Regions from separate parts of the Homo sapiens genome. Here all the other regions are linked to region 6. The links are contacts of gene promoters, found by promoter capture Hi-C in blood cells and fetal thymus (Javierre and others, 2016). All regions are on one chromosome and are shown on one strand. Each heading gives the region's core, a stretch centred on a gene start or on the middle of the fragment in contact. The rest is flanking DNA. Distances are from core to core; before and after follow the strand shown. Region 1 overlaps LOC124902479 (a long non-coding RNA gene). Region 2 overlaps RPP30 (ribonuclease P/MRP subunit p30). Region 3 has its middle 11 kb from the start of ANKRD1. Region 4 holds the start of LOC124902479 (a long non-coding RNA gene). Region 5 overlaps RPP30 (ribonuclease P/MRP subunit p30). Region 6 holds the start of PPP1R3C (protein phosphatase 1 regulatory subunit 3C).

Region 1 (2,880 bases), core at 63-2,562, 640 kb after region 6:
AATTTGGATACAGAGACAGATGCACACAGAGGGAAGATGATGGGAAGGGACACGGGGAGAAGATGGTCATCCCCATGCCAAGGAAGGAGGCCTGGAACAAATTCCCCTTCACAGCACTCAGAAGAAACCAGCCCTGCTGACACTTCGAGTTCAGACTTTTAGCTTCCAGAACTGTGAGACTATACGGTTTTGTTGTTTAAGACCCCCGGTTTGTAGTACTTTGTTACAGCAGTCCTAGCCAATGAATACAGGTATATTATGAGGACTTTAGTCTTTTACTTCTTTTTTCTTTACAAGTTTTTTAAATAGAAAAGTAGAAGTAAGAAAATAAAGCAGAAAAAAATGATGTTCAGTGTCCCTGTTGTGAAAACTCCTGCTGATATATACATATATATAGTATATATGATATCTGAAATATATATACACATGCATACATATACAACATACATATACATATATATGTATATAGTATTATACATGCTGAGTTACACCATTCAAAAAAAATTTTTTTTTTGAGACAAGGTCTCACTCTGTCACCCAGGCTGGAGTGCAGTGGCATGATCTCGGCCCACTGCAACCTCCACCTCCTGGGTTCAAATGATTCTCCTGCCTCGGCCTCCCGAGTAGCTGGGATTACAGGCACCTGCTACCATGCCTGGCTAATTTTTGTATTTTTAGTGGAGATGGGGTATTGCCATGTTGTCCAGGCTGGTCTTGAACTCCTGATCTCAAGTGATCCACCTGCCTCAGCCTCCCAAAGTGCTAGGATTACAGGTGAGAGCCATCACTCCTGGCCTCAAATATTTTTTAAAAGTGCAAAGAAAAAAGAGAGTGACTAAGAGCGAGCTTCCATGCCTTAACTTCTCTTCTCATAACTGTCAACCATTCTTAACTGTTAACCACTAAATCTCTGTACCCAAAAGTGTTTATACCAGCAACTCCATATCCATTTATCCATCTGTTCTTTTTTTTAAAAAAAAGTATACAAAAGGGATCCCATTTTACATACTCTTCTTTGCTTTGCTGTTTTCTTTAAATGATACGTTGGAACTCCATCCAGACCAGCACATACCGAGTGTCCTTATTTCTTCATGGCTGCACAGTATTCCACCATGGGCATGTGCAATGTTTCATGTAACAGGATCTACCCAAGAGCCTGTGTTTTCTGCTGGGCTCTGCTAGGGCAGGTTAGGAATGCATCTGAGCACCTTAGGGCTGGTAGGACATTCAGAACTCATCTGCCAGCCCTCTTGTTTTTCACATGAGGAAAACTGGTACACAGAATGGAAGCATTTTGCCTAAAGTGACACAGAAACTTAACAAAAGTAGTTCCTGCTGTTAGGGATGTCAAACATTTTCCATAATTATGTGGTTTTTTTTGGTCACCAAAACAATGTAAGGATGTCACAGGCCTCATGTTTGCATATATTTCTTAAAATGTTTTATTTCCATAGGTTTTTAAAGAACAGGTGGTGTTTGGTTACATGAGTAAGTCATTTAGTGGTGATTTGTGAGATTGTGGTGCATCCATCACCTAAGCAGTATACACTACACCCAATTTGTATTATTTTATCCCTCAACCCCCTCCCACCCTTTTCCCCAAGTCCCCAAAATCCATTGTATCATTCATATGCTTTTGCATCCTCATAGCTTAGCTCCCACTTACGAGTGAGAGCGTACAATGTTTGGTTTTCCATTCCTGGGTTACTTCATTTAGAAAAATAGTCTCCAGTTCCATCCAGGTCGCTGAGAATGCCATTAATTTGTTCCTTTTTATGGCTGAGTAGTATTCACCATAACTTCTTTAACCATTCGTTGCTTGATGGGCATTTGGGCTGGTTCCATATTTTTGCAGTTGCGAATTGTGCTGCTGTAGACGTGTGTGCAAATATCTTTTACAAATAATGACTTCTTTTCCTCTGGGTAGATACCCAGTAGCGAGATTGCTGATTCAAGTGGTAGATCTACTTTTAATTCTTTAAGGAATCTCCACACTGTTTTCCATATTGGTTGTACTAGTTTACATTCCCACCAGCAGTGTAGAAGTGTTCCCTTTTCCCTACATCCACGCCAACATCTTTTTTTTTTTAATAGCTATTCTTGCAGGAGAAAGGTGATATCACAATGTGGTTTTGATTTATATTTCCCTGATCATTAGTGATGTTGAGCATTTTTTCATATTTGCAAAAAAAAAACACAAAAAAATTTAGAAACAGAATTTTCTAATCTGTCTATAATGCTTCTAAATGTTTCAGAGTTTTAGTGGGTTGAACACATTTTTTAAATATGTAAAAATGCAACAAATTCCAAATTGTTTGTCACAAGAATTGATTGACATAAAGGGAAACAGAAATATAATAGCTGACTTTAAAGAAAAACGTTGGTACAGTTGGTAAATGGGATTTTAAAAAATAAGCATCATGACTTAGTAAGTGCAGCTATTGCTTTTCTTATTTGTATTCACACGCCTTTGTGAGGTAATTAAACTTTTTGTTATTGGCAATTATTGCCACTGAAACCAGCATCAAAATAAGCCAAACATAAACCCAGATCTTCCTATTGCTTTATGTTAAAGCAGTGTCAAATTAAATGTTAAATCAAGATATTTTAAAATCAATGAAGCATTAATATCTACATTTAACTCTTTAAAATATTATTAATTATAACTAATAACAATTTAGCAAAAGCAAATGCTTTTTATTTTGATTTTAAAACTTTTTCATATACGTAGTCATTTTTTTTATTTTACATATGTTGTATTATGTACATATTAGTACATTAATACATAGATAAATTTAGGTGTAAAATACTTATTCTAGAGGATGAGCACAAAGTTGGTTTTACTTATATGAATGTAAAATCAAACAAAGTTTGTAAAAC
Region 2 (2,959 bases), core at 22-2,521, 740 kb after region 6:
CAAGGTACAGCTTTATGAAAGACAGATCAACACTCAAATGGCACCACCCACAAGGAGAAGAAAATAAATCCGTGGCTCTACTTGATTAAGAGAGTTTAACTTGGCTGTGGGGAAGCTGACTTTACATAAACAGGAATTATGAAGAGGCTAAGAAGAACAAAGTCCCAATGGCGTGAGAGAGGGGCTACTACTCCATGAACTATCAAAAGGAAAACAGAAATGTACTCCCTACATTTACAGTAAACTGTATACAAACATAGTAAACCAAGTAATCTGACCTATGAATGCACAAAGAGACAAAGAAATGAAGAGCTGAAAAAAGCCCAAAGAACCAAGGGCAGGAAGGTCTTTCAGGTAAGTAATTTATTCTCTATATGTTGAAGAGAGAATAACAGCCATAGTTAATTGAGTGCTGACTATATGCTAAGAGAGTCTTATATATAATATTTAATCCTTACTACAATACCTTTATAAAGCATTACTGCAAAGCCTGCAAATTGCCCAGATATCTGTCCTCTCCTTTTTCTTTAGTAATAAAGCCCCTGATTTTTCACTGGGCTTATAGCCGCACAGCAAAAAAGATGGAAGTGCCCTTGAAGATTTTGCCCAGCTCACCATACAAGCTTGGCTTTTTTCATGAGAAACAGAAACTTCTTTATTTAATGTACTCTTACTACAGAGGGATCCACAGGTAAGTAGATGAGTGGAAATGATATTGAAATTAACCACCATACTGTTCAGCTTTCCTAATGAGCACCTAAATGTCTGCATCCATTCACAAAAGATGTTTTAAGCCCACTACGTGCAAAAGCTGAGATGGTTTCTCCCTTCTAAAAGCTTACATTTTAGTGGGGGAGATGATCAATAACCACACAAAAATACAAAACTTCAACTGTGTTAAGTGCTATCAAGGAGAAGTTTAGGGTTGAGGAAGAAATTAAGCAGTTAAATAGTAGAGGAAGGTGCACTTTCAGAGGGAGGTCAGAGCATGCAAAAGTCTTCAAGGTTGCAGCATGGCAGCACGTAGGGAAGGTCAAATGCTGGAGAAAAATAATGAGGAAGACAGGCTAAAGAGGATGGGAAGGGCCAACTGTGCAGGCCTTTAGAGCTGGTGATGAGGATTATTCCTAATGGAGAAAACATCTGAAGGATTTTCAGCATAGAGATGATAATCAGACTCTCAATTGCAAAAGTCACTTGAGTGGCAGTACTCTTTCAAAAGAATAAAGAAAGAATGGTAGGCATGTTCTAGGCAGTATGGTCCAAGTCTCTGCTTGGCAAATGAGTTTCGATTGCCCAGAGTATAAGTTGGGACTGGCCCAGCTGTGACTACTGGGGTTTACTCCTGAGCATTTACGGGGAATGGAGAAACTTGTCTTTTTCTAGAACTGGCAGTCCATCTTGATTTAATTCAGTTGTACTTGAAGGCCCCTTCTGCTTTTCCCTCCCGAACACAGATTTCCTTAATTCTTCCTCCGGCTTCAAGGCTCCCAGATTTTATTTTAGATTTTCCTATATGTCTGATTCTAGTTTGGTTAGAATTTAAATGCTATTTTCCACACTGCAACCTTTCCCTCTCTCATTTTTTGACTTTTCCCCATCTCTAATTCTTTCACCTGTGTTGATTATTTCTGGGAATGACATTTGTTAAGATAGTATTTCTGTCCTAGTTGAACGTGTATCTCATTGGCTCTGCCAAGCTTGCACACTTCTTGAGAGCTAGACTGCCTTTTACATAAAAGGTGTATAATATATTTATATTTTGAGTGAATAAATAGCAGCTTATGGAGAAGATGTCCTGTGATAACGTTGTTCATTATAGATGATCCATCATCAAAGGAACCTCGGTGCACCTGGCTAACCAAAAACCACAGATAAGTAAAAACATCCCTTTTAGCCATATTATCAGCCATCTCCTTGGCTATATATTTTACCAAAACTACTAATTAGCTGAAGAGGCTGACCTGTATTTCTTTTCCTTATCCTTCTAGTTGTGGAACGATAATACAAGGCAACAGGATGATGAAGAGGGGAAATAAATGAAAGAGGTGAATGATATATAGAGTTGGATGCTTAGATCTCGAAATATTCCTAATTGACTGAATCTAAATTTCTAGACCCTTGTGGGTACCAAATCAAAATAAAAACAACTTTTGCGGGGGGAGGGGAGAAAAAAAGGATATTATCAGCATAATTATTTTTTAAGGAAAAAGTTCTGATTTTCATCTTGGTACATTAATCAAGTTCACTTTAAAACTGCTATAGGAATTCTTGAAAAAGAAAAATTAAAAATAATGTGCTATTGAAGGTTGTGAATATTTCTTTCATAGCATCTTATTTTAAATTTTTAGATGGATAAAATACAGACTCATTACCTGGGATCTTGCTGTAAGACCATTTTGATGCAAATTGCCTAAAGCTCATCAAATGATTGTTCCTAACAGCCTCTTCCTAACAGTGCCTGCCTGATTAGCTTTTGTTCTCATGTCTGACCAAAGGTTCTGGCATGGGTGGATGATCACATTTCTTTACTAATGAAAAATAATGGTCATAAAGATGCTACTAAGGACAGGTGTGTGACAGTTGAATCAAGATACATTGGTACTAAAATTCCAAGTATTAAGCAAAGCCTTAGAGAAAGACGAGAAGAAAGTAAGGAGCTGATTACTGGGACAATATACTGATTCCCTGTTAATTTCATAAAAATTAGTTCTTTATTCAATTCAAATGAATGAAACCCTTTCAGTGTTTAAGACAGGTAATTTGTCCACATGACTCACAAAGCAACATAAGAAAACAATAAAAAGTACTACTTGCATCTCCAATCCTATCTGCCCTATCCCTTCCTCCAATAATCACTTTTATTAATTTCTTGTGTCTTCTTCCAGAGTTTCTTCATACAACTATAAGCAAATACGAAGAGATACTATTTTTCTTTCCTATCCAAAAGGTAGTCTGC
Region 3 (2,781 bases), core at 47-2,546, 720 kb after region 6:
TATATTCCTTTGGGTACATACCCAATAATGGGATTGCTAGGTCAAATGGTATTTCTGGTTCTAGATCTTTGAGGAATCACCACACCATTTTCCACAATGGATGAACTAATTTACATTCCCACCAACAGTGTAAAAGTGTTCCTATTTTTCTGCAACCTTGCCAGCATCTGTTATTTCTTGACTTTTTAAGTAACTGCCATTCAGACTCCATCCATCTGACAAAGCTCTAACATCCAGAATCTACAAGGAACTTAAATTTACAAGAAAAAACAACCCCATCAAAAAAGTGGGCAAAGCACACGAACAGACACTTCTCAAAAGAAGATATTCATGTGGCCAACAAACATCTGGAAAAGAAAGCTCAATATCACTGATCATTAGAAAAATGCAAATTAACTGGAGATTTAACAATTCTTGTGGACAGGGACTGGCAATGTCAAAGACTTCCCAGGAGAGAACACACAGGTCCATGATTTTTGACCTCCAGACCACCATAATAAAACTAATATCACAATAAAGTGAGTCACAATTTTTTTTGGTTTTCTAGTGCATACAAAAGTTATGTTTACATTATCCTGTGGTTTAATAATTGTGCTATAGCACGATGTCTAAAAAACACTGTACCTACCTTAACTTAAAAATACTTTATTGCTAAAAAAAATGCTAATGATCATCTGAGCCTTCAGTGAGTCATAATCGTTTTAATGGCGGAGGGTCTTCCCTCCATGTGGATGGCTGCTGACTGATGAGGGTGGTAGTTGATGAAGATTGGGATGGCTGTGTCAATTTATTGAAAGAAGACAACAATAAGCTTACCACATCAATTAACTCTTTCATAAAAGATTTATCTGTAGCATCTGATGCTATTTGATAGCATGTTACTATCAATAGAACATCTTTCAAAATTGGAGTACATCCTCGCAAACCCTGTTACTGCTTTATTAACTAAGTTGATGTAATATTCAAAATCCTTTTTTTGTCATTTCAACAATGTTTACAGCATCTTCACTAGGAGTAGATTCCATCTCAAGAAACCACTTCCTTTGCTCATCCATAGGAAGCAACTTCTCAGCTGTTCAAGTTTTATGACAAGATTGCAACAATTCAGTCACATGTTCAGGCTCCACTTTTAGTTTTCTTGCTATTTCCACCACATCAACAGTTACTTACTCCACCGAAGTCTTGAACCCCTCCAAGTCATTCACACAGGTTGGAATTAACTTCTTTCAAATTCCAGTTAATGATATTTTTACCTCCTCCAATGACCCACGAATGTTCTTAATGGCATCTAGCATGGTGAATCCTTTCCAGAAGGTTTTGAATTTATTTTGCCCAGATCCATCAAAGGAATCGTTATCTACGGCATATAGCCTTATGAAATGTGTTTCTTAATAAGACTTGATTCAAAATGACTCCTTGATCCATGGGCTACAGAATGGATGTTGTGTAAGCAGGTATGAGAATAACATTCATCTCCTTGTACATCCTCATCAGATGCACGTCTCCATCAGTCTTGGGTGACCAGGTGCATTTTCAATTAGCAGTAATGTTGTGAAAGGAATATTTTTTTTTCCTGAACAGTAGGTTTCAATGATGGGCTTAAAATATTCAATAAACTATGATGTAAAAAGATGTGCTATCATCAAGGATTTGTGGTACAATTTATAGAGCACAGGCAAAGTAGATTTAGCATAATTCTTAACAACCCTAGGATTTTCAGAATGGTCAATGAGCATTGGTTTCAACTTAAAATCACCAGCTAACAAGGGAGTCAAAGCTTTGAAGCTTTGAAGCCAGGCATTGACTTCTCCTCTCTAGCTATCAAAGTCCTACATGGCATCTTCCAATAGAAGGCTGTTTCATCTACATTGAAAATCTGTTGCTCAGTGTAGCCATGTTAATCAGTTATCTTAGCTAGATCTTCTGGATAACTCGCTGCAGCTTCTTTCTTCTATCAGCACTTGTGCTTCACCTTGCACTTTTATGTTACAGAGATGGCTTCTTTCCTCAAATCTTATGAACCAACTTCCGCTGCAGTTCTCCAACTGTTTTCAGCAGCTTCCTCACTTCTCAGCATTCATAGCATTGAAGAGTTAGGGCCTCTGGATTAGGCTTTGGATTAAGGCATTATTGTAACTGGTTTGGTGTTCTATCCAGACCACAAAAACTTTCTCCATTCAGCAATAGAGCTGTTTTGCTTTATCATTTGTGTGTTCACTGGAGAAGCACCTTTAATTTCCTTCAAGAACTTTTCCTTTGCATTCACAACTTGAGTGAGAGGCATAGTTTTCAGCCTATCTTGGCTTTCTACATGCCTTTCTCAATAAGCTTAATCATTCCTAGCTTTTGATTGAGAGAGATGTGTGGTTCTTCCTTTCACTTGAACACTTAGAGGCCATTGTAGGGTTATTAATTGGCCTAATTTCAATATTGTTTTGTTTCAAGGAATGGGGAGGCCTGAAGAGAGGGAAGGAAATGGGGAAAGCTGGTCGATGGAGGAGTCAGAACACACACAACATTCATGGATTAAGTTCACTGTCCGATATGAGTGCAATTTGTGGCTACCTAAAACAGTTATAATAGTAAAATCAAAGAACACTAACCAACAAAACACATATAATAATAATGAAAAAGTTTTTAATATTGTGAAAATTACCAAAATGTGACATGAGCGAGACAGGAAACAGGCACATGATGTTGAAAAAATGGCACCAATAGACTTGCTGGTTACAGAGGTGCCACAAATCTTCAACTTGTAAAAAATTCAGTATTTGCAAAGCA
Region 4 (2,808 bases), core at 30-2,529, 610 kb after region 6:
CTTCAACCCAGGCAATATTATCATTCATGCCTGGTTAATTAAGGAAGAAACAAATGCCTTAGGAAACTCATCCTGATATTAGAGGGAGGGAGAAGGACCTATTTTAGGTCTTGGGATATTTCATTTCCCCAAAGCCCTCCCTGTGAGTCACAGGACAGAAATTGGAGGCAGAGAAAGCAGAATAGCATAGTCGTCCAGACTAAAAAATAAGTTTTGGCTGAAAGACTGGATAATGGCATTTATGTATTCCTTGCTTGTGAGGTTCTGCAGTGCTTTCTGTTATGTATGCATGGGATGCAGCAGGCAATGCCAGCGTTTTTGTTCCTCTGAATTCCTGTCGTTGGACACTGCCAGGATTTAGGGTAGGGTCAGCCCTGGGCCATTTTAGCCCCAATAAAGGTCTGTTTTATTAAAGGCCTGCTTGTCCCTTGCCTGTTTACTGCTGCCTAATACAACACGTTCTTTATCTCTTTTTGGCTCTGCCCCAAAGAAAGCAGGGAGGCTTGTTGCTGCTTGGATTCCAGTTTCTGTCTCCAGTCTGGTCTTGTGGGGTTTAGGGGCTGGAAATGGGGAAGAGCTAGAGCACAGCATTTAGGATTGAGTTTTATACTATTCGGTACTCCAATTATGAAAACAACGATGATGATGCTTCTGACCTGCCCTGTTGGGCTGTTTCTTCCCCATCCTTTTGGTGAGTAGCTGTGCTGTGTCATTCTCATGCTCCCCTGTCCTTCTGGTGATGACGAGGCCCATGTTGGAACCTACAGAAGTGAGAAGTGAAGACTGTGACCCTGGAGGGTGTTGCACTGGGAAAACTAGCTGGTATATTGGGAATGTGAGCTATGAGTTTATCTGAATTTTAACCATGTTCTCACTAACTTATCTGGTCCTGAGGGTCACCAAGCTAACAGGCTGGGTCAACCATCAGCAGAGCCAGCTTCCTGAGCATGTGATCTACGAAGTCACACAGGCTCTGCACTTAAAAATAAAAAGCCCTCCCCCTGGTTTAAGTTCTGCTACCATCATCTGGAAATTTCTTAAGACCTTTTAAACAAAGGGTCCACATTTTCTTTTTGCACTGGCCCTTGCAAACCATGTAGCCAGTCCTGACTGTAAGATCAGATCTTCAAACAGTCCTAATACAGTCGATTGTGAAGATAGTTTAGCTTTTAGGCTTCCCCAGCAGTATTACAATTTCCAGAGGATTAAAGGAAGCACCTGAGGCAGTGAGAAGGAACACCTGCTGAATCCTGAGATCTATCTACAGTACAGGAGCCAGGCTCATTGATTCTGTCGAAAGGCAAAGTGTGATGCAGCCTTGAACATGCCCATCCCAGCAGTGCTAGGGTGCTCAGAGAAGAGGGTGATTGGCAGTGGCAGATGCAGCTGTGCGGTCAAGGAGGAGAAGCATAAAGAGGCTTTTTAATATGCCCTCAAAGAAGTAATTGGAGACCTGGAGAAACTGTAGAAGAGAAGAGTACAAGCTGGCTGGAATCCAGAGGAGAATTCCACAAGTGGAATTGGAGATAGCAAGAAAGAGACCATGTTAGAGGAATTTAGAGTGGGTGAGAGTTGGTGAGGGCTGAATATTTGTGGATGGGTAGCCTGTACCTGTCTGAAGGTCACTGGAAGGCAGTGAGGGCAGAGGGAAAAAGTGATGAAGGAGTAGGGAAGAAGAACATAGTCTGGAAAACTGACGCTGCAAAGGAGAAGTTAGAGAGGGAGTAGATATTACAAAGGATCCAGCATGTATCTGAGAGTCTCCATATCCTCACCTCTCAATTGGTAAGACTCTGAGCAGCAAAGGAGTGCGACTGAAGGAAGGCTGCTTCTGCAAATCTAGTCTGGAAACATCTGCAGCAAAATCACATATGGTGCTTATTACAAATGTATTTTCTAGATCCCATCCTGGACCTTCACTATCAGGTCCCTTGAGGACTTGGAGTTGGGAGGGCAAGAATCAGGCTTTTAAACAAGAGTTTCAAATAAATCCTGATGAAATTCAACCTTTAAAAGAAAGACGACGGAGGAATACAGCTAAGGCAGATTTTGGAGGCCTGACCATATGGCACAGTGATGCTGAGGCTGAGTGAAGAAGGAAGAGGTGTAAGCACAGGTAGCCCAGGCCTGCTAGTATGGAGGCCAGCCTAGCCTGAGATAACAGCAATGTCCCTCTGTCACAGAGGGAGGTTCCTGCCTGCAAAGTCCCCAAAGGGACTTCCTGCCAACCACATTCCTACCACCCCTTACCTTGCTGGAAGTGACTGTTTCCTGCAATCAGCAAGTGGGATAAAGAATTTCCAGTAAAGACTATGCTTCTGAAAGTTGAAGTCTGGTCTATCTTGCTTTTGTAAGATTATGCTTGCTTCTTAGATTCAGCCTCTTACACTGTTTCCCTAGCTGCCAGGTTCCTGTTCTCTTTCAAATCCTTGATTAATCCCTGATTGATGTTTCACTAATCAACTGATGATTTCTTCCAGACAGACTAGTTTTGCTCCTCTGCTGTCTGATCCTTAGAGAACTTCTCAAAGTATCAGTCATGTCATAATTTCTGAATGTTTTCAACAGCTCTCCTTCTCAAACTTGAACATGCAGACAAATCACCTGGGAAGGCACATTCTGGTTTAGTGGATGTGGGATAGGATCTGAGATTCTGCTTTTCTCATTCTAGCAAGCTCCTGGGTGATGCTCACGCTGCTGGTCCATGGACCACACTCTGAGTAGCAAGGTTTTCAAAATTTTTCCACTTGTATTAAGGGTTTGAAAGCAACATCCATTGCTTATGACAGTTGTGTTTTAAATGCAAAT
Region 5 (2,700 bases), core at 150-2,649, 760 kb after region 6:
CTTAAGTCTGGTGCACGTGAGTTCAATGAGTAACAGTTGCCAAGGGATTCTTTAATTGTGGTATCACTACACATGTGCCATGAGTAAGTGGAACAGACATATTACACTGTGTGAATTCTGAGGACAAGGAGAGCAAGCAGGTGTCATGGTTTGGCGGGGGCGAGGGAAAATGTAAAATGGGGAAGACAAAATGCAACATTGTTCAACATTAATCAATACAACTCACAAAGCCAAAAGGAGAGAAGAAAAATAATTAACTTACCAAAACATTGCAGTGAGATGGATCCGAGACAATAATTGTTAATCTAGTTAAAATTTTAATTGGTCTTGATTTTCCCTATTTAAAAAAGACATGATGTCAAAAAAGCACAAAAGACAATAATTGATTTTCCTTTTTACCAGTGGAAAGTATTCATTAAAAGGTACTGGCTATAAGGGATAGTGAAGATCAATAAAACCCAGTCCTTGTTCTCTAGGAATTTACAATACAGCCACAGAAAGAGATGTATATATCTTAAACTACATAACGAGATAATTTAAAAATTGTAGGACTTCAGGAAAGAAGATCATCAAAGCAATGCTGAATTGATAGTAAAAGAATGTTTCCTGAAGAGCTGAGCCTTGAGGAAAACGTTAAGACTGGTACTCAGAGTAAGGTGCAGCTCAAGCTAGAGAATAGCACAATAATTAGGTACCTTTTAACTGAATAAATAGATATTATGCTTCGTAAACAACAAAACACCTACCTGTACAATTGGCAAAGTTGTGAAGAGTTCAGAAACAGCTACTGGTTTTTCAATTTCCTACAACAAACGATAAATAGTTACTGCAGATTGTATCCATTAATAGCACAAGGCATAATGGAAAAATTACGAGGTGTTCTCAGAAAAAATATGCATTTTTTTTAAAAAGAAAGCAAGGTGATTTCTGGTATTCAAAAAAACTTTTAAAAATTATTTTTAAAAAGAAAGCTAAATAGAGAAGCAACTGTAAACATCAGTGAATAGGAAGAATGAAAACTAATTTTTAGACTGAAATAATCTACAGGATACAGTTGTTGGCCTAAAGAGAAATATACATACTTATTAGTAATGTTTAAGAGAGAAAGTAGTTAATAAGCCCATGACAATAGAATAAAAAGGACTAAATATTTTGATTACAGTCCAGCCAATAACAATGCACTTTTTGAACAGTGAAAAGTAACTTAATTTCAAATCACCTTTAAGAATCCTGAACACTATGTCATATTACCTCACAAAAATCATCATTGTATAAATATGCATCAGCTCGACTGTTTCTATATAAAATAGAAAAGTAGTAGTGCACAAAGGGGTGCATTTAAGAAATATTCTAATCTGTAGCTTCCAAATTACCAATACAAACAGAATTACAAATACTTATTTATGAACTTATTAACTTTAGAAATATTATTTTACCTGTTTCTTTTCCTTAAAGTCAACGATATGATTGATAGCAACAACTGAATAGCCAACTGAAAAAGAAAAATTGAACACTTTTGTTAAATATAACAACCTCTCCTTCCTGTAACACAGGTCCATCCTGAGTCTAGATGTCAAGAGTAGGAGGACATTTGAGGAGTGGTTATGAATGTGAACTCTAGTGTCAGTCTGCCTGATTTAAAGTCTATGCACTACCACTTACAAGTTACTTAACATGAAGTTTCAGGTTCCTCATCTGTCAAATGGTGAAAATAACAACACTTTCTTCATACACTGTCATGAAATTTAAATGAAATAATACACATGAGGTGTTTGAGAACAGTGCCTGGCACACAGGTCTTTGTTTAACCATTATGAATTATTATTAAAATGATACTAAAGACTCTTAACTTTGTGCTTCTCCTTTTCAAATGTCATTCTCTTTCATGACCCTATATTCATTTTTATCCCATCAAGTTCCTACTTTATCACTGTCACTTTTATTCCCGTTCATTTCTTTTGCTTTTTATCCTTCTACTTCCTTCAGAGACTCCTTTCCTAAGGAGAAATGGAGTGATAACTCCCTCACACCACTGCCCGCTTCCCATTTTAAGCTGCACACCATCGACAGACTGGGAGCTCCTTGAGGTCAAGGGCTTGCTTTATTATCCTCATCAGTTAGCACTGTTCTGGACATTTGGGCTACCAAAAAAAAATCTAAATCATGACTCCCATCTTTAATTTTTAAAAATACCAATGGGGATGAAAGGATATTAACATTAAAATACATATCAATGCCAAACTCTCAACAGTTTGTCCAACTTCCTTCTTCCCTTCCTCCCTCAAATATTTACTGAGCATCCATTACTTGACAAGCCCTAAACTGGTGTTGAGCATACAGGATAAATAATATAATCCTTCTCCACAAGAAATTTACAGCCTAGTCTGTTGGAGAACGAAGGCAAATAAGGCAATTAAGCAAGTCATTGTATATAAATACATGTTTTTTATAAGTAAGGATTCTATGGAAGTACATAGCACAGTGAAACCTGGTGTAGGGGTCACAAAAGGCTCCCTGAAGAAAGTTACCCTTAAAAACAAAAAAAAAATCACAAGTATGCCTGTACCTTGGGCTTCACCTTGCACCCAGTTAGTCAAATCAACCAGCCACACCTCCTCCCTATTCTTCTTTACCACACTCCCAAATCTGCTCTAAACTTCCTTGTTATACCCATTTAGGATATCCTTTTGGCTACTAAAC
Region 6 (2,700 bases), core at 160-2,659:
ACTCTAGCTGAGAGATCAAGTAGAAACTTGGGAACTAGCCCGGGTGGAACACAGGCACTGGGCATCGTGCTGAGTCTGTTCATTGGCACCATCTTACTTCATCTTCAGAACGTTACTATCTCTGTTTTACACATGAGGAAACTGAGGTTAGAACTTGCCTAGATTCGTGTAGCTAGTAAGTGTCAATCCAAAGACCTTCCAGCTAGTTTTGGTTGAGCTAAAGGGGCTAGAAGACCTGCCATTAGTTAGATATTTCATTTCAAAAATAAAACCCAGGCATGAAGTCCCTTTCCCAGTGATATTCAGTGTGATTTTTTTCTTCACTCTAATAATTTTAACAATTCCACTGTTTGACAGTTGTTTAAAAGACATAGGAATTTTTGTATATTTTAATTGACTAATGGATAGCTCAATTAGGGGAGCAAAACTAGGATGTGGGTTTTATAAAAATAATTTAGACTTGACTTAGACATTTAATTTTACAGTTGTAAATGATGGTCTAAAAATTCTTCAAACTAATCAAAATAATGAAACTTCAGCGAAAGTGAGTGGCTCAGAAGGCCCATGAAACATACGGCGTGATTTTTTAAATTTTATTTTAACATTTTGATTTCCACACCACTGCCAAAGGACGTCAGAATTGAGTAAGGGGTTTGGGTTGACTGCTGCCTCTTGACCGGCTGTATGTGTGAAAAGGGTCATTTCACTTCCGGCTTTAGTGTTCCCCGCAGGGGAGAAAATTGAAGAATAGACAGAAATACGAAGTGTCTTTTAATTAAATGCCACCTTGGTGTTTTATGGGGCTCGTATGCTTTCCTAACAACATTTGTTAGATAAGTTGGTAATTCCCGGCAGCTGTCTACTGTGTGGTGCATCTGTGAACTCATACTAATCGAAAAGCATGCAGCCAGTTTGGGATCGCGCAGGCTAAGGTGAGGGAGAAATGCGGATACACCGGGTAATGAACGATATAAACATTTCAAATGCGATACACATTCGGTTTGAGCCACATCTTCTGTGTGCAGATTCACCCGCAGTGACCCACAAAGCTATTCCCAAGTAACAGCCGCCCCAAGCCTGAGGCACTGGCGCCCCGCCTGGGCGAGGCTGGCTGCGCTCTCTCTTGGCCGGCGCCCGCTGCATGCGGTACGTGCCTGCCCGGCCCCTAGCCCAGGGTTCCCGTTACGCGGCTGGTTCCAGCTGGCCGCGGAGTCCCAGAACCTCCCCGCGATGCCCAGATAGCTCTCTGCACGTCTCGCCCCGGGGCGATCACGTTGCCGGGGCGAGGGCTGGCGCCCCAGCTGGGCGCTGGTTGGTCGCGCCCTGGGGCTCGAGGCCCGGCGATTGGTCCCAGGGATCGGGTCACGTGCTTGGGAGCAGATAAGCGGCCTCTAGGCGCCGGGCCCTCAGTCTCTCCCAGCGACCGCCGCGGGGGCAAGGCCTGGAGCTGTGGTTCGAATTTGTGCAGGCAGCGGGTGCTGGCTTTTAGGGTCCGCCGCCTCTCTGCCTAATGAGCTGCACCAGGTAGGTTCGCTGCAACTCTGCGCGCTAGGAACACAGGGGAACGCGCAGCTGTGGGGAAGTTGGGGGGCGTTTCAGTTCTATCATCTCTGGAAATGGACACCCCAGGGGGAGGACAAGTGGACTGACTGCGTAGTTGAATCTGGCAACCGAGAGGCCTTGGAGGTGTAGAAATTTGGCTCTATTTCTTAAGCAGAGCCTATTTTAGTAATCAGCATCTTAAAGCAGAAATTATCTTAACGTGAATCAGCTTGAGTTAGGATTTTCTCATGGATGCGGCTGTTCTTTTGGTCCTGCACAAATGTCCCAAAGACTCGGGCAGCTGAAGTGGTGAGAACAGCACTCTGACATTGCTGGTTAGGTGGTTTAGCTTGGAGGAAAAAAATTACAGGACGACGTTTGCATTCATTCGTCCTTCTTATCACAGTTTGCCATAGCAAAATCTCAAGAGTTTGAGCAAACGATTACTTTTAACTCTTGTCCAGGACTTAAAGTTCCAAGGAAATCACCCAAACTAAAACTGTCTTTCTATAAATGCAAAAAGTAAAAAAAAAAAAACAAAAAAACCAAAAAAAACCTCCCATAAAACTACTTTAAATAGCTTCTCCAGACATAGCTTAGCAGAAGACTTCTCTAAAAATCCTGCCTATTAACTATTATTAGACCCACAAATATAGCTTTAGCTTTCATTTGTTTGTTCTAAGTTTGCAGATCTCCCAGAAAAACCCCAGAGCTAACACAGTAAATTCTGCGAGTGTTATTACACACTTTTGTGATAATGACCACTTGCATACATGTTTAGAGCTGCTGTGAGGAGAGTTACTAAAGCCAGACTGAGAAATGTCGTGTACAGTATACACACACCTCTTACTTGTAAGGCTAAGATAGGGAAAAAAATCTTAATACCATAAGCTTGGAAATATATGATGAGGGCTAAAGGTCAGAGAAAAGTCTTCTTTATAGATGCTTCTTGGTTTAATATTGCTGAGCATAGTCATGTTTAAAACTTTAAATGGTTTTATTGTCTTTCTACTTATAAATGTCTATTAGAAAATGCCAAAAAAGAACAAAAACGAAAATAGATAATCTATAATCCTATCACCCAGAAATAATAATTATTAAATTATTAGGAAAGGTGTATTTCCTATAGAGTTTTTCAATATTTATAAGTTTGTATAT

What was found. Contacts are between HindIII fragments. The CHiCAGO score rates a contact against its expected background, and 5 or more counts as called.
Region 1: a contact is called between a fragment that was not itself captured here and the fragment with the promoter of PPP1R3C in region 6, in 2 of 17 cell types (total CD4 T cells and naive CD4 T cells). The highest score is 6.0, in total CD4 T cells.
Region 2: a contact is called between a fragment that was not itself captured here and the fragment with the promoter of PPP1R3C in region 6, in 3 of 17 cell types (fetal thymus, endothelial precursors and naive CD4 T cells). The highest score is 9.9, in fetal thymus.
Region 3: a fragment that was not itself captured here is called in contact with the fragment with the promoter of PPP1R3C in region 6 in 5 of 17 cell types (naive B cells, total CD8 T cells, total B cells and 2 more); the score reaches 7.1 in naive B cells.
Region 4: a fragment that was not itself captured here is called in contact with the fragment with the promoter of PPP1R3C in region 6 in 1 of 17 cell types (total CD8 T cells); the score reaches 5.0 in total CD8 T cells.
Region 5: a fragment that was not itself captured here is called in contact with the fragment with the promoter of PPP1R3C in region 6 in 3 of 17 cell types (fetal thymus, endothelial precursors and megakaryocytes); the score reaches 12.5 in fetal thymus.

The regions. Positions count from the first base shown.
Region 1 is chr10:90,994,945-90,997,824 of GRCh38, reverse strand. It overlaps LOC124902479 (a long non-coding RNA gene), which reads left to right. Exons shown (of 2, transcript XR_007062238.1): 2 at 1-346. Among named protein-coding and RNA genes, the nearest start is that of XLOC_008559, 49 kb to the right of the region's middle. The HindIII fragment of the contact is 4,314 bases long and covers 1-2,880 here.
Region 2 is chr10:90,891,703-90,894,661 of GRCh38, reverse strand. All of the region lies in intron 6 of RPP30 (ribonuclease P/MRP subunit p30), which reads right to left. Among named protein-coding and RNA genes, the nearest start is that of RPP30, 21 kb to the right of the region's middle. The HindIII fragment of the contact is 863 bases long and covers 840-1,702 here.
Region 3 is chr10:90,908,393-90,911,173 of GRCh38, reverse strand. It overlaps a transcript of RPP30 not described here. Among named protein-coding and RNA genes, the nearest start is that of ANKRD1, 11 kb to the left of the region's middle. The HindIII fragment of the contact is 966 bases long and covers 814-1,779 here.
Region 4 is chr10:91,021,206-91,024,013 of GRCh38, reverse strand. It overlaps LOC124902479 (a long non-coding RNA gene), which reads left to right and starts at 536. Exons shown (of 2, transcript XR_007062238.1): 1 at 536-691. The HindIII fragment of the contact is 3,179 bases long and covers 1-2,808 here.
Region 5 is chr10:90,873,661-90,876,360 of GRCh38, reverse strand. RPP30 (ribonuclease P/MRP subunit p30) reads right to left here. Exons shown (of 11, transcript NM_006413.5): 2 at 1,437-1,492; 3 at 747-803; 4 at 263-337. Among named protein-coding and RNA genes, the nearest start is that of RPP30, 3.0 kb to the right of the region's middle. The HindIII fragment of the contact is 2,904 bases long and covers 1-2,700 here.
Region 6 is chr10:91,631,780-91,634,479 of GRCh38, reverse strand. It overlaps PPP1R3C (protein phosphatase 1 regulatory subunit 3C), which reads left to right and starts at 1,409. Exons shown (of 2, transcript NM_005398.7): 1 at 1,409-1,524. The coding sequence starts at 1,511. RefSeq lists enhancers at 777-1,276, 1,277-1,778 and a silencer at 1,303-1,442. The HindIII fragment of the contact is 3,050 bases long and covers 1-2,435 here.